2 separate regions of the Homo sapiens genome follow, and region 1 is linked to region 2. The links are contacts of gene promoters, found by promoter capture Hi-C in human tissues and cell types (Jung and others, 2019). All regions are on one chromosome and are shown on one strand. Each heading gives the region's core, a stretch centred on a gene start or on the middle of the fragment in contact. The rest is flanking DNA. Distances are from core to core; before and after follow the strand shown. Region 1 overlaps ZNF665 (zinc finger protein 665). Region 2 holds the start of ZNF615 (zinc finger protein 615).

Region 1 (7,243 bases), core at 3,414-5,913, 1.2 Mb before region 2:
ATTAAAAAGTCAGGAAACAACAGGTGCTGGAGAGGATGTGGAGAAATAGGAACACTTTTACACTGTTGGTGGGACTGTAAACTAGTTCAACCATTGTGGAAGTCAGTGTGGCGATTCCTCAGGGATCTAGAACTAGAAATACCATTTGACCCAGCCATCCCATTACTGGGTTTATACCCAAAGGACTATAAATCATGCTGCTATAAAGACACACGCACACGTATGTTTATTGCGGCACTATTCACAATAGCAAAGACTTGGAACCAACCCAAATGTCCAACAATGATAGACTGGATTAAGAAAATGTGGCACATATACACCATGGAATACTATGCAGCCATAAAAAATGATGAGTTCATGTCCTTTGTAGGGACATGGATGAAATTGGAAATCATCATTCTCAGTAAACTATTGCAAGAACAAAAAACCAAACACCGCATATTCTCACTCATAGGTGGGAATTGAACAATAAGAACACATGGACACAGGAAGGGGAACATCACACTCTGGGGACTGTTGTGGGGTGGGGGGAAGGGGGAGGGATAGGCTTTAGGAGATACACCTAATGCTAAATGACAAGTTAATGGGTGCAGCACACCAGCATGGCACATGTATACATATGTAACTAACCTGCACATTATGCACATGTACCCTAAAACTTAAAGTATAGTAATAATAATAAAAAAAGAAATATTTCCATTAAAAAAATTTTTTTTAAAGCCATCCAACCTATTTTCCAAAGTGGTTGTAGCCTTTTACATTCCCACTACCAGTGTGTGAGAATTTTAGTTTTTTCACATCCTTGTTAACACTTGGTATTGCTAGTTTTAAATTCCAGCCTTTCTAATCAACATTTAGTAGTTTAATTTGTATTTTCCTAATGACTATGATGTTGAATATCTTTTAATGTGCTTATTATCTATATATATTAATATTTTCTTTTGTGCAGTGTATGTTCAAATCATTTTCCAATGTTTAAAATTGGGCTTTTTGTTTTCTTAATATTGAACTTTGAGAGTTCTTTGTATATTCCAGATACAAAGTCTTTATCAGATTTGTGCTTTGTGAATATTTTCCCTCAGTCCGAGTCTTCATTCTTTTAACAGTGTGTCTTTATAAATTAATTCTTTTTTTTCTTTTATGGATCATGATTGTGGTATCATATCTAGGAAATCTTTGCTTGATCCGAGGGCTCCACAGATTTTTCCTCATGTTGGTTTTCTAAAAGTTTTATGGTTTAGATTTTACATTAGGTTTTCATCTGATCTATTTGAGTATATTTTTCTATATGGAATGAGGTATAAACAAAAGGGTTTTTTTGCATATGAAGATCTAATTGTTTCAGCACCATTTTTTAAAAAGACTGTCTTTTCTCCATGGAATTGCCATTTATTCTTTGTCAAAAATCAGTTGTCTATATAACGTGAGTCTATTTCAGTATTCTCTATTTCATTCCATTGATCTATTTGATATTTGTCTAATCAACAATAATCACACTGTCTTGATGACTACACTTTTATAATGAAAGCAGGTAGTGATAGTGTTACAACTTTCTTCTTTATCAAAATTGTTTTAATTATGCTAGATCCTTTCCATTTTCCTATGAATTTTAGAAAGCCTGTTAATTTCTCAAAAAATACATGCTGGAATTTTGGTTGGGATTGTGTTGAATCAATAGGCTAAATGGGGAGTGTTGCTGTTTTAACAATATTGAGTCTTCTAAATGCTGAACAAGATATATTTAGCTTTTCATTTATTTAGGTCTTCTTTAATTCCTCTCTGCAATATTTTATAGTTTTTAGTGTATAGGTTCTTCATATCTGCTGTCGGACTTTTCTCTAAGTATTTAATGTTTTTAAAGCTATTGCAAACTGCATTTTAGAAAACTTTCTGATTATTCATTGCTAGTATATAGAAATAAAATTGATTCTTTGGGGTATTGATAATGTATTCTTCAACCTTGCTAAACTCACTAGTTCTAGCAGCATTTTTGTAGAGTATATTGAATTTTCTCAAGGATGATTATGTTATCTGCAAATAAAGACAGTTTTATTTCATAAAAAAAAATTATATTCCAGTTCTTATATCCTGTGCTGGTTCTGAAGTAGAACTCCTCTTTTCTTTCTTTCTTTCTTTTTTTTTTTTTTTTTTTTTTTTTTTGAGAGGGAGTCAGGCTGTGTCGCCCAGGCTGGAGTGCAATGGCACAATCTCGGCTCACTGCAAGCTCCACCTCCTGGATTCACGCCATTCTCCTGCCTCAGCCTCCCGAGTAGCTGGGACTGCAGGCGCCCGCCACAACGCATGGCGAATTTTTTGTATCTTTAGTAGAGACGGGGTTTCATCGTGTTAGCCAGGATGGTCTCGATCTCCTGACCTCGTGATCCACCCGCCTCGGCCTCCCAAAGTGCTGGGATTACAGGCGGGAGCCACCGGCGCCCGGCAGACTCCTCTTTTCTCAAGAGAAATTGTTGGCCAAGCACCCTGGCTTACGCCTGTAATCCCAGCACTTTAGGAGGCTGAGGTGGGTGGATCACGAGGTCAGGAAATCGAGACCATCCTGGCTAACACGGTGAAACCCCGTCTCTACTAAAAATACAAAAAATTAGCCGGGCGCGGTGGCGGGCGCCTGTAGTCCCAGCTACTCGGGAGGCTGAGGCAGGAGAATGGCGGGAACCCGGGAGGCGGAGCTTGCAGTGAGCCGAGATCGCGCCACTGCCTGGGTGACAAAGCGAGACTCTGTCTCCAAAAAAAAAGAGAGAGAAATTGTTGACAATCCACAGACTATAACTTCCTGTAAACACGGTTACTAATTCTTGCCTACTGCTTATATCCTGAGTTGCTAAAATATTTTCTTAATTTCGATTATTATTGATAGAGGATGGTTTTTTACCATTTGTAAGAAATACAACTGTTGGGGCTGGGCGCAGTGGCTCACTCCTGTAATACCAGCACTTTGGGAGGCTGAGGCGGGGGGATCACCTGAGGTCGGGAGTTCGAGACCAGCCTGACCAACATGGAGAAACCCTGTCTCTACTAAAAATACAAAATTAGTCTGGCCTGGTGGTGCATGCCTGTAATCCCAGCTACTCAGGAGGCTGAGGCAGGAGAATCGCTTGAACCTGGGAGGCGGAGGTTGCGGTGAGCCGAGATTGCACCACTCACTCCAGCCTGGGCAACAAGAGCAAAAGTCCTTCTCAAAAAAAAGAAAGAAAGAAAGAAAGAAATATAACTGTTATATACCACTTGTTAATGTTGCAAAATGTTTGCTCTGTGTGGGTATATAGGGGTATGTAGTTTTATAACAGGTATTCAGAAAAATAGTTTTTTCTGACATTTTAAAATTGAATTCCTCCTCGTTTTTTCAGTGCTATTATTGTTTTCCAATTCAAAATTACTAGTTCTTTAATTATTCATTACATATGTTTGCTGTGAGTTATTTGCCATTAGAGTATATCATGTTGTGCTTCAGCATTTACTTATGCATAACAAATATGCTTTAAATAGGCACAATCTAAGAATTATTTCTCTTGAATTCTGTGACAGCCATATAAAATATACTGCCAATTGGTAGCCTTGGGTCATGGTTGAAAAATACTCCTTTCAGGGCTAATATGGGTTTGCACAATATGAGTGTTTTGTTCACAGAATGTTTAAAACTAGGATCCCCTACTATTTGAATTACATGTTACCACCTTTTCTTTGATAAGGAATCCTGTTCCTTTTGTGTTCTGGAAAATTATGGTTCTGAAGAATCGTAAGTCTGTTCAACATAACTATTACTTTTGGTGTAACATTAGGTTTTTCAATGGGAAATAGTTATTTACCTACTATAGTTAACTGGAAATCTATGGTTGTTTATATCTTACAGATATCTCTTGTAAATGTGTAAACACGGATTTGCCACCAAAGGGGAAGAACAATATGGGAGAAGCGTTCTACACGGTGAAGTTGGAGAGACTTGAAAGCTGTGACACTGTAGGCTTGTCCTTCCAGGAAGTTCAGAAAAATACATACGACTTTGAGTGTCAGTGGAAAGATGATGAAGGAAATTATAAAACAGTACTTATGTTGCAAAAAGAAAATCTCCCTGGTAGAAGAGCTCAACGTGATAGAAGGGCTGCAGGAAACAGGCATATTGAAAATCAGCTTGGAGTAAGCTTTCAGTCACATCTCCCTGAACTGCAGCAATTTCAACATGAAGGGAAAATTTATGAATACAATCAAGTTGAGAAGTCTCCTAATAATCGAGGAAAACATTATAAATGTGATGAATGTGGCAAGGTCTTCAGTCAAAACTCACGGCTAACAAGTCATAAGAGAATTCATACTGGAGAGAAGCCTTACCAGTGTAATAAGTGTGGCAAAGCCTTTACTGTTCGTTCAAACCTAACAATCCATCAGGTCATCCATACTGGAGAAAAACCTTACAAATGTAATGAATGTGGAAAGGTCTTCAGTCAACCTTCAAACCTTGCAGGTCATCAGAGAATTCATACTGGAGAGAAACCTTACAAGTGTAATGAGTGTGGCAAAGCCTTTAGAGCACATTCAAAACTAACTACACATCAGGTCATCCATACTGGAGAAAAACCTTACAAATGTAAGGAATGTGGCAAGTGCTTCACTCAAAATTCACACCTTGCAAGTCATCGAAGAATTCATACTGGGGAGAAGCCTTACAAGTGTAATGAGTGTGGCAAAGCCTTTAGTGTTCGCTCAAGCCTGACTACCCATCAGACAATCCACACTGGAGAAAAACCTTACAAATGTAATGAATGTGGCAAGGTCTTCAGGCACAATTCATACCTTGCAAAGCATCGGCGAATTCATACTGGTGAGAAACCTTACAAGTGTAATGAGTGTGGGAAAGCCTTCAGTATGCATTCAAACTTAACTAAGCATCAGATCATCCATACCGGAGAAAAGCCTTTCAAATGTAATGAATGCGTCAAGGTTTTCACTCAGTATTCACACTTAGCAAATCATCGAAGAATTCATACTGGAGAGAAACCTTACAGGTGTGATGAGTGTGGCAAAGCCTTTAGTGTGCGATCAAGCCTAACTACCCATCAGGCAATTCATACTGGAGAAAAGCCTTACAAATGTAATGACTGCGGTAAGGTCTTCACACAAAATTCACACCTTGCAAGTCATCGGGGAATTCATTCTGGAGAGAAACCTTACAAGTGTGATGAATGTGGTAAAGCCTTCAGTCAAACATCACAACTTGCAAGGCATTGGAGAGTTCATACTGGAGAAAAACCTTACAAGTGTAATGAGTGTGGCAAAGCCTTTAGTGTTCATTCAAGCCTAACTATACATCAGACAATACATACTGGACAAAAACCATACAAATGTAATGATTGCGGCAAGGTCTTCAGACACAATTCGTACCTTGCAATTCATCAGAGAATTCACACTGGTGAGAAACCTTATAAGTGTAATGAGTGCGGCAAAGCATTTAGTGTACATTCAAACCTAGCTACCCATCAGGTCATCCATACTGGAGAAAAACCTTACAAATGTAATGAATGTGGCAAGGTCTTCACTCAAAATTCACATCTTGCAAATCATAGAAGAATTCACACTGGAGAAAAACCTTATAGGTGTAATGAGTGTGGGAAAGCCTTCAGTGTTCGTTCAACCCTAACTACCCATATGGCAGTCCATACTGGAGACAAACCTTACAAATGTAACCAATGTGGCAAGGTCTTTACTCAAAATTCAAACCTTGCAAAACATCGAAGAATTCATAGTGGATAGAAACCTTACAAAGGACGCCGGGCGTGGTGGCTCACGCCTGTAATCCCAGCACTTTGGGAGGCCGAGGCGGGGGGATCACCTGAGGTCTCGAGTTCGAGACCAGGCTGGCCAACACGGTGAAACGCTGTCTCTACTAAAAATACAAAAATTAGCTGGGTGTGGTGGTGCACGCCTGTAATCCCAGCTACTCGGGAGGCTGAGGCAGGAGAATCACTTGAACCTGGGAGGCGGAGGTTGCAGTGAGCGAGATCATGCCATTGCACTCCAGCCTGGGCAACAGGAGTGAAACTCCATCTCCAAAAAAAAAAAAAAAAAAAAAGTAACCTTACAAAGGAGTGCGGCCAGTTTTTCAGCCACAAATTCTTTCACAACATCAGAGAATTCATTCTTGAGACAATTCTTACAAATACAGTGACTGTGGCAAACTCCTGATGAGTTTAAGCATTAACAGACATCAGAGTTCAAATCCTGTGAATATACTATGTATGACAGAAGCTTTATCCAGGTCTCAGAGCTCAATACGCATCAAAAGATACATCTTTGATGAAGTCACACAAACGTAACATGCATGCTGAGACTATTACTCCTGGACCACAACTGTAGGTGAGGATTCATAGGAAGAGTAGAACTCAGTCTCTAGTTTCCTCATAACCCTCTGATATTATATACTTCAGCATAATCAGAAGTCCAAATGTGTTAAAACTCATTACATGATACATATCAAAGGTTGTAGGATGTTTGGAAATGGCCAATTACTTTCAGCTTATAAAATGTTTTGTTGAAGTATTTAAGATTTATTGAAAAGGCTACTATTTATAACTTCCAACCAGAACTTTGCAATGTGCTGATTTTATACATGATTATACGCCTAACATGGTGTTGTTCGGGAAAGAATCAAAGGATGGAAGGGCTCACTCACTTCATTAGGTGAGGATTATTTCTCTCCAAGCTCCTGAAGAAAAAAGACTCTGCCTTTTAAAATTAAATATAGTCTGAATTAGAGAGCACTTGGAAAGGGCAGAGGATGATGAACTATGATGTCACTCATCATCCTTATTGCACTGCAGGTGCCCTTCTTCTGACAGAAGAGCACTGTGGGTATGGGAAGAAATTCTCTACTGGCCGGGCACAGTGGCTCACGCCTGTAATGCCAGCACTTTGGGAGGCCAAGGTGGGTGGATCACCTGAGGTCGGGAGTTCGAGACCAGCCTGACCAACATGGAGAAACCCCATCTCTACTAAAAATACAAAATTAGCCAGGCATGGTGGCGCATGCCTGTAATCCCAGCTACTCAGGAGGCTGAGGCAGGAGACTCGCTTGAACCCGGGAGGCAGAGGTTGTGGTGAGCCGAGATCATGCCACTGCACTCCAGTCTGGGCAATAAGAGCGAAACTCTGACTCAAAAAAAGAAAGAAAGAAATTCTCTACCAGTAGACCATGAAATAGAGCCAGGAAGACACTCGGATTTTTATTAGAGGA
Region 2 (7,422 bases), core at 3,755-6,254:
TTGAGGTCAGAAGTTCAAGACCAGCCTGGCCAACGTGGCGAAACCCTGTGTCTACTAAAAATACACACAAAAAATTAGCTGGGTATGGTGCTGGGCTGTTGGGAGCCGAAGGCCCATGGGATGTGACCAACTCAGCATTCCACTGGAGGCTATATGATCAAACAGCAAACTTTATCATGAATGCACGATGTGGGCAAACTCATGACTGCTTCCGCTGCCAGAAGGTTTGCTGAGGGCAATCGCTTCCTGGTGCTGAGCTCCTTGAGGTTATCTACTGGGACATCTAGAGAATGCCATCTTGCAAACCCTACTCTGGACTGAGTAGCTGACCCCTTCTTCCACCCGCCTTCTCACTATCTCTTTTGCCTAATAAATATGGAGGGCTGTGTAAAGCTCAGGGCCCTTGTCCACTAGAGGCAAGGTGTCCCCTGATCCCTTCTTCCAAATATACTCTTTTGTCTCTTTTATTCCCGTTTCCCCCACTTTTTTCAGTCCCCCTAGGTCCTTGTGGGTTACGTAGTGGCGCCCCAAACAGTGACAGGATCGGGCGCTCTACAGTTGGCGCCTGTAATCCCAATTACTTGTGAGGCTGAGGCAGGAATCACTTGAACCTGGGAGGCAGAGGTTGCAGTGAGCTGAGATCCTGCCACTGCACTCCAGGCCTGGGCAACGGAATAGGCTCTGTCTGAAAAACAAACAAAAACAACAAAAAAAAGAGTCTCTGTTGCCTAGGCTGGAGTGCAGTGGTGCGATTATAGCTCACTGCAGCCTCAAACTCCTGGGTTCAAGTGTTCCTCCTGCGTCAGCCTCCCATGTAGGTGGGACTATGTGTGTGCACCCTCATGCCTGGCTTTTTTTTTTTTTTTTTTTTTTTTTGTAGAGACAGCATGTTTTAGGCCATTCTTGCATTGCTATAAATAAATACTTGAGGCTGGATAATTTATAAGAAAAGAGGTTTAATTGGCTTATGATTCTACAGGCTGTACAGGAAGCATAGCACTGGCATCTGGTCCTGGGGAGGCCTCAGGAAGCTTACAATCATGGTGGAAGGTGAAGAGGGAGCAGGAGTAAGACAGAGTGGAGGGGGTAGGTGCTGCACACTCAAATAGCTAGATCTTGCTAGTACTCACTCACTATTGCAAGGGCAGCATCAAGCCATGAGGGATCTGCCCCCATGACTGAGACACCTCCCACCAGGCCCCACCTTCAACATTGGGGATTACATTTCCTTTTTTTTTTTTTTTTTTTGAGATGGAGTCTCGCTCTGTCTCCCAGGCTGGAGTGCAGTGGGACGATCTCGGCTCACTGCAAGCTCTGCCTCCTGGGTTCACACCATTCTCCTGCCTCAGCCTCCCGAGTGGCTGGGACTACAGGCGCCCGCCACCATGCCCAGCTAATTTTTTTTTTGTATTTTTAGTAGAGACAGGGTTTCACCATGTTAGCCAGGATGGTCTCTATCTCCTGGTCTTGTGATCCACCTGCCTCGGCCTCCCAAAGTGCTGAGATTACAGGTGTGAGCCACCACGCCCGGCTGACATTGGGAATTACATTTCAACATGAGATTTGGACAGGGACAAATATCCAAACTATATCATTCAGCCCCTGGTCTCCCTCCCCAACAAATCTCATGTCCTCACATTGTAAAATACCATCATGCCTTCCTAAGAGTCCCCAAAGTCTTAACTCATTCCAGCATTAACTCAAAAGTCCAAAGTCTTATCTGAGACAAGGCAAGTCTCTTCTACCTATGAGCCTGTAAAATAAAAAGTTATTTGCTTCCAAGATACAATGGGGGCATAGACGTTGGGTAAACATTCCCATTCCAAAAGGGAGAAAGCCACAAGAAAGGGCTATAGGTTCCATGCAAGTTCAAAACCCAGCAGGGTAGTCATTAAATCTAGTGCAAGGCGTGGGTTCCCAAGGCCTTGGGCATCCTCTGCTCATGGGGCTCCCTCAGGCAGACATCATGGTTTGCAGACAGCTGTATCCTTCCCAGGTGGCCCTACAGAGGAAGGCACACCCGACTTTTCCAATGTCCTGCAGACCCAGCTGTCTCAACTCTTATGGTGATCCAAGAGTGAGGGCCCCTCCCTACTTGGACACCACCCAAGCTGGCAAGTCCTGCTTGGCTAGGAGCAGGGATAAGCACTTGGATGGCAGATTAGGTGACCCCCACCCACTCATGGCATTATGTTTGTCCACAGAGTTTAGTAACAATTGGGACTGCTGGGCCGGAGGCTCTAGTGGTTGGATTTTGACTGGGGCTGCATGGTCTAAATAGCTTTTTTCACATATTTGGGCTTCTGCTGGAATGGATGAGGCCTTTATTTACACAGTCAACAAGAGGCTAGTCTGGGCTTTCTTACAATGTGTTGGAAGATCTCTAAGAGACAAGCAAGCCTTGATGAGCAAGCTTATTTCTCACCTCCATTTGTGTTACACTTGCTACTGTCCTATTGGACACATTAGTCAGTCACTATGGAGAATACTATCCAAAGATGTGAATATAGAGATGCAAGAATAAATTTATGCAATAACCACAAAAGTATTTGTTTCCTTATAATTGTCAGATCAATACCATAAATATCCTTGCACATATTTGTTCTCACAAAGAAAAGTTCTATTGAATCAATTCTTAAAATTCATGGCTCAAGGAGAAGGAAAAGTTTAAACTGGGTAATAACAGACTGTACTACAAAAACATTTTACGAATTTATATAGAAACACAATCCTATACCTAGAAATAATGTAATGCTTAAGAACTTCGAATTATGACCAGTATGATAATATCTCAATTCATTTAAAGCAGTATGTAATTGACAACATTATTACCTACCATGCAGAAAAAGAAGACTTAAAGAGGCTTAGCATAACAGAATGCCTTTGTTCCATGGCCTTATAATCTAAATATGATTTGTCATTCAATCTTTACAAATCTTAATAAGGGTTAAAACATTTATATTTCACGTTTACTTTGCATTTGTTTGAATATTAGTAAAACTGGTATTTTTTAAATTGTTTAGGATCATTTACATTAAAAAAAGTGTCCTGTTTATTTCCTTCATGTATTTATAGAAAATTTTAGGGAGCTTTTAAGTTGATCATCTTTTCCTTATTTTTATTTATTTTTTTTTTTGAGACAAGAGTCTCACTCTGTCTCTCAGGCTGGGGTGCAGTGGCATGATCTTGGCTCACTGCAACCTCTGCCTCCTGGGTTCAAGCGATTCTCGTGCCTCAGCCTTCCAAGTAAATGGGACTACAGGCCTGAGACACCATGCCCAGCTAATTTTTTTTGTATTTTAGTAGCTATGGGGTTTCGCCATGTTGGCCAGGCTGATCTCAAACTCCTGAACTCAGGCAATCCTCCCGCTTTGGCCTCCCAAAGTGTTAGGATTACAGGCATGAGCCACCGCGCCCATCTTTTTTCTTATTTCTTTTCAGATCTCTTTATAGGCCGGGTGAAGGGTGAAGTGGCTCACACCTGTAATCCCAGCACTTTTGGAGGATGAAGTGGGAGGACTGCTTGAGGCCAGTTCAAGACCAGCTGGGCATCATAGTGAGACCCTTGTCTCTACAGAAAATTAAAAAATTAGCCAGGTGTGGTGGTGCCCACCTGTAGTCCCAGCTATTCAGGAGCCCAGGAGTTCCAAGTTACAGTGAGCTGTGATCTCCCCAGGCACTCCAGACTGGGCAACAGAGTGGACCTTGCCTCAAAAAGAGACAAAAAAAAAACAAAAAAAAAGAAAAACTCTCATATACCAAGGGTGAGAAGAGCAAATGGAACACGAACTTGACTCTGAAAAATAGTTTGACAATTTCTCTGTATATTTATATACTGATACCTATATCACACACATAGATTCACACAGGCATTTCCTTTCTCTCATTCTTCTAATATAGGAAGTTTGGTTGGATTTATATTTACAGTTCAGCATTGCCATGACTTTGCACATACTATTCGCGGTTGGCACACGTAGTATAACGTGATCTCCTTCTTAACCTTTCTTTCTTTTGTTTTTTTTTTGAGATGGAGTTTTGCTCCTGTTGCCCAGGCTGGAGTGCAATGACGCCATCTTGGCCCACAGCAACCTCCGCCTCCCGGGTTCAAGCGATTCTCCTGCCTCAGCCTCCCGAGTAGCTGGGATTACAGGCATGCGCCACCATGCCTGGCTAATTTTGTATTTTTAGTAGAGACAGGGTTTCTCCATGTTGGTCAGGCTGGTCTCGAACTCCCGCTCTCAGGTGATCCGCCCACCTCGGCCTCCCAAAGTGCTGGGATTACAGGCGTGAGCCACCGCGCCCGGCCTCTTTCCCAACCTTTTTTTTCTCACTGAAGTGGTCCTGTTCCCTTAATTTCTGGCCACTTCTCCTGAGTCCAGCCCTCATATTTGGCTCCACCTGGGTCCCAGGCTCTCCCCTCCGCCTTGGGAACTATACTTTCTGGCTTTTACTGGCTTTTCCCCATGCCTTTCACCCAACATAATTTTGGCACGTTCCAACCGTTTTCATTACCTAGTCTGTGACTGCTACCCCTGTTCCGTCAGCGTAGCTAACAGCCCTCTTCTGCGTTCAAAAGGCGCTTCAAGCTACTTTGTTAGAAATCTGGCTTTGGCCGAAGTGTCCCCTCTCGGCCGGTTCTCCTTTTCCCTCACAAGGAACTGTTTCCTAACCTTTGTACAAAGTGTAAACGTCGCGGCCATCTTAGCCTTCTATTCAGCTGCTGAAAGGGATTTACCTCCACGCCATTTTTGTCTTGTGTAAACTGGAGCCTCTGTATATGGACCCGTATTTATGAAGGGTTGAGGTGCCAGGAAATGGGACAGTTTCAGTGCTCTTTCATCTTCCCGGCCATCCCCGGTCACCCCCGGTCACCCCCGGTCACCAGCGCCAAAACGCGCCCTTTGCCTTGTGTACGTCAGATACTCAAAGATGGCGGCCCCCATGGAGCCAAGGCGACGAGGGCGCGGCCATCTTGCATCTGCGCAAACGCTGGGAACGCCTCCGACCCTGGATAGTCGCCGTCAGGCACTGAGGAGGCCGAGAGATGAGGCCGGAGCCCACCAAGTTCTGGGAAGTAAGTTCAGTCACTGGGTGGTCGCTGTGGTGACGGGGGAGGAAATTCTGTCCGTGGCTGGGCGTGTTCGTGGACAGTGGTGATGGACTGGTATCTGTCGGCGCCAGCGTTTGGCGACGCCAGTGGAATTCTTTCAGGAGCTTAGCGTGGGTCCGATTCCTATCGCAGGGGAACTACAAGAGGTCCGTGATAGGGTGTGTGTGTGTGTGATCGGGGTACCTCTGGGACCAGTCACAGGGTCCTCGTGTAGTTTGTGGTTAAAGATCTCTAGAGATCCGCTACTGAGTGCCCAAGTCACATTCTGGTGTCTTTGGTGTTGTCCTTTGGCGGGGCTCAGTGATTGCGAACTGGAGGGTTTGTTTTGTCAGCGAATCGGTTTATGGTTCAGGTTTTGTTTGGGACTAAATGATTGAGGAACTGTCTTGGGGGTTAAGGTACGGAGGTTTCTGATCCAGGTTTTGGAATTAATCCCGGTGGCGGTGGTGGTAGCGCCACAGATTCCGATGTGGGCTGCAGCTCTGGAGGCCTGGGAACCATGGCAGGTGATGGGTTAGCCCCAGCCCTGGCTGCTGGAACAGAATTGATGCTCATTAGCATTCCCCTTCTGCCCAAGACCCTTCTCCACGACTGGTTTTTAAATCCCCTTTGGCACCTTCCATCACCCCTTGGTCTTGAATCCTCAGAAATGGAAGTTTTTGGCGAGATCAGTCATCTAGCATACCTAAAAGTAGTATGTTTTATATTTAAGATGCGGCTTCTACCCTTTGTCCTGCAAGTTTCCAGCGTATCCTCTTGGATATTTCTTTTCAGGTTCTTTCTGACACAAGTAAGATAACATCTCTGCCATGGTAAGCTCGGTTACTCAAAGATAACCTTTGTCAAATTTTCAGAATATTTCAATTTTAGACGTGTATGTTATGTGCTTAATATTCATAATTCAGATAAATTATGTAAATGGTACTATTATCTTTTTCGCTTTATATTATGTAATAAACATTTAGAAGTTGTTTTTACTGTTTGAGCCGGTGGTACTATAAGTGCATTCACATTAAGTTTATGCGTACATTTGGATAGAAGTGAAATGTTTTAAAATGTTTAGGTATTATTTTTAGGAACATTTTATGATTATCCATTTATCCATGAATTTTGTTTTTCCTGCCTTTAATCTTCAATCTAGACTATTACTTTTATTGCAGTGTATTGCTTTCTGACTCCCCTTTCCTTATAATCTATAACAAAAGATAAATTAATTTTAAATATTTATTTTATATTTGGTCATCTTAATTCTTAGTATTACAATATTTTTCTCTCTGCCTAACATATTATTTTGTGAAAATTTTTGAACCTATGGAAATATTGAAAGAAGTTTAATGTTAATACCAATATGCCTACCACCTAGCTTTTACCATTAACATTGTATTAGATCAGCTCTACTGGTTTTCTAAGTATTCATCCATTCCTCTGTTTGTGAATCATTCCTTATTTGTTGTCGATTTTGGTATATTTCAAAGTAAGTTACAGACATAAGTACCATTCCTCTAAATAATTCTGTATATGATTAACTAGAATTCTACTAATAGCCCTTTAATTGCTTTATTTATTTACTTAATAGGGAGGCATCTGATTTACAGATAATTTTGGTTCGGTATAAAGTAGAGTAAAAGTGGATTTTGAAGTGAAACAAAAGTGGATTTTCAGCCCTGATTCTGCTTCTTGCTCATTGTGTGATTGGCATAACTTGTGTCGCTTTACTTGTTGGCCAAAAGAGGAGTTAAACATCTTTTCCTCACGATTATCTCTGAGGATTATTTTTGGTTTTGTCTTTTGTAAAATTTGTATTTATATTCATTTTTTTCTCTCCCTTCCTCCCGCCTGGTTTCTCTCTTTTTTCTATTAATGAAAACATTTAAAGCCGTAAACTTATATTACTGAACTACCATCAGCAATTTTATTTTAAATGTAGAATGCTAATATTTTTCTGATGTAAACCTGTGTTTTCCCTATGAAAAATCAAGTGAAGAAAGTAAAAATGACCTGTCAGATAGCACACTTTTGCCAATATTACCTTTTAAGAAAGTTTTAGGAATGGGGTTTTGGGTTACCAGGTATACCTTTATTGGCAATTTTCAATAGAATGTTAAATTGTTCCCAAGAAAGGTTCTGCTCTTAATACTGACTCGATCTGTATATGCTTTAGGAGGATATAGGATTTTTCTATTTAAATTTTGTATCCAGCCACCTGACTAAAGGAATACAGACGTATTAGGCAAATACTGATAATTTGCCCCTTATATTCAAAAGTCATCTTTGATTATTTTTTTATACTGCATTCTACTGAGTGACATTCT

What was found. The method cuts DNA at HindIII sites, captures the fragments that hold promoters and counts their contacts. A contact is called where the count stands out against the background at its distance.
Region 1: a fragment that was not itself captured here is called in contact with the fragment with the promoter of ZNF615 in region 2 in 1 of the 25 tissues and cell types used here (aorta).

What each region holds. Positions count from the first base shown.
Region 1 is chr19:53,162,973-53,170,215 of GRCh38, reverse strand. It overlaps ZNF665 (zinc finger protein 665), which reads left to right. Exons shown (of 4, transcript NM_024733.5): 4 at 3,869-7,243. The coding sequence ends at 5,763. Among named protein-coding and RNA genes, the nearest start is that of ZNF347, 7.5 kb to the right of the region's middle. The HindIII fragment of the contact is 5,852 bases long and covers 1,738-7,243 here.
Region 2 is chr19:52,005,793-52,013,214 of GRCh38, reverse strand. It overlaps ZNF615 (zinc finger protein 615), which reads left to right and starts at 5,004. Exons shown (of 7, transcript NM_001199324.2): 1 at 5,004-5,074; 2 at 5,885-5,922. LOC124904755 (a long non-coding RNA gene) reads right to left here and starts at 4,917. Exons shown (of 2, transcript XR_007067321.1): 1 at 4,736-4,917. RefSeq lists enhancers at 4,494-4,573, 4,634-5,243. The HindIII fragment of the contact is 10,336 bases long and covers 1,723-7,422 here.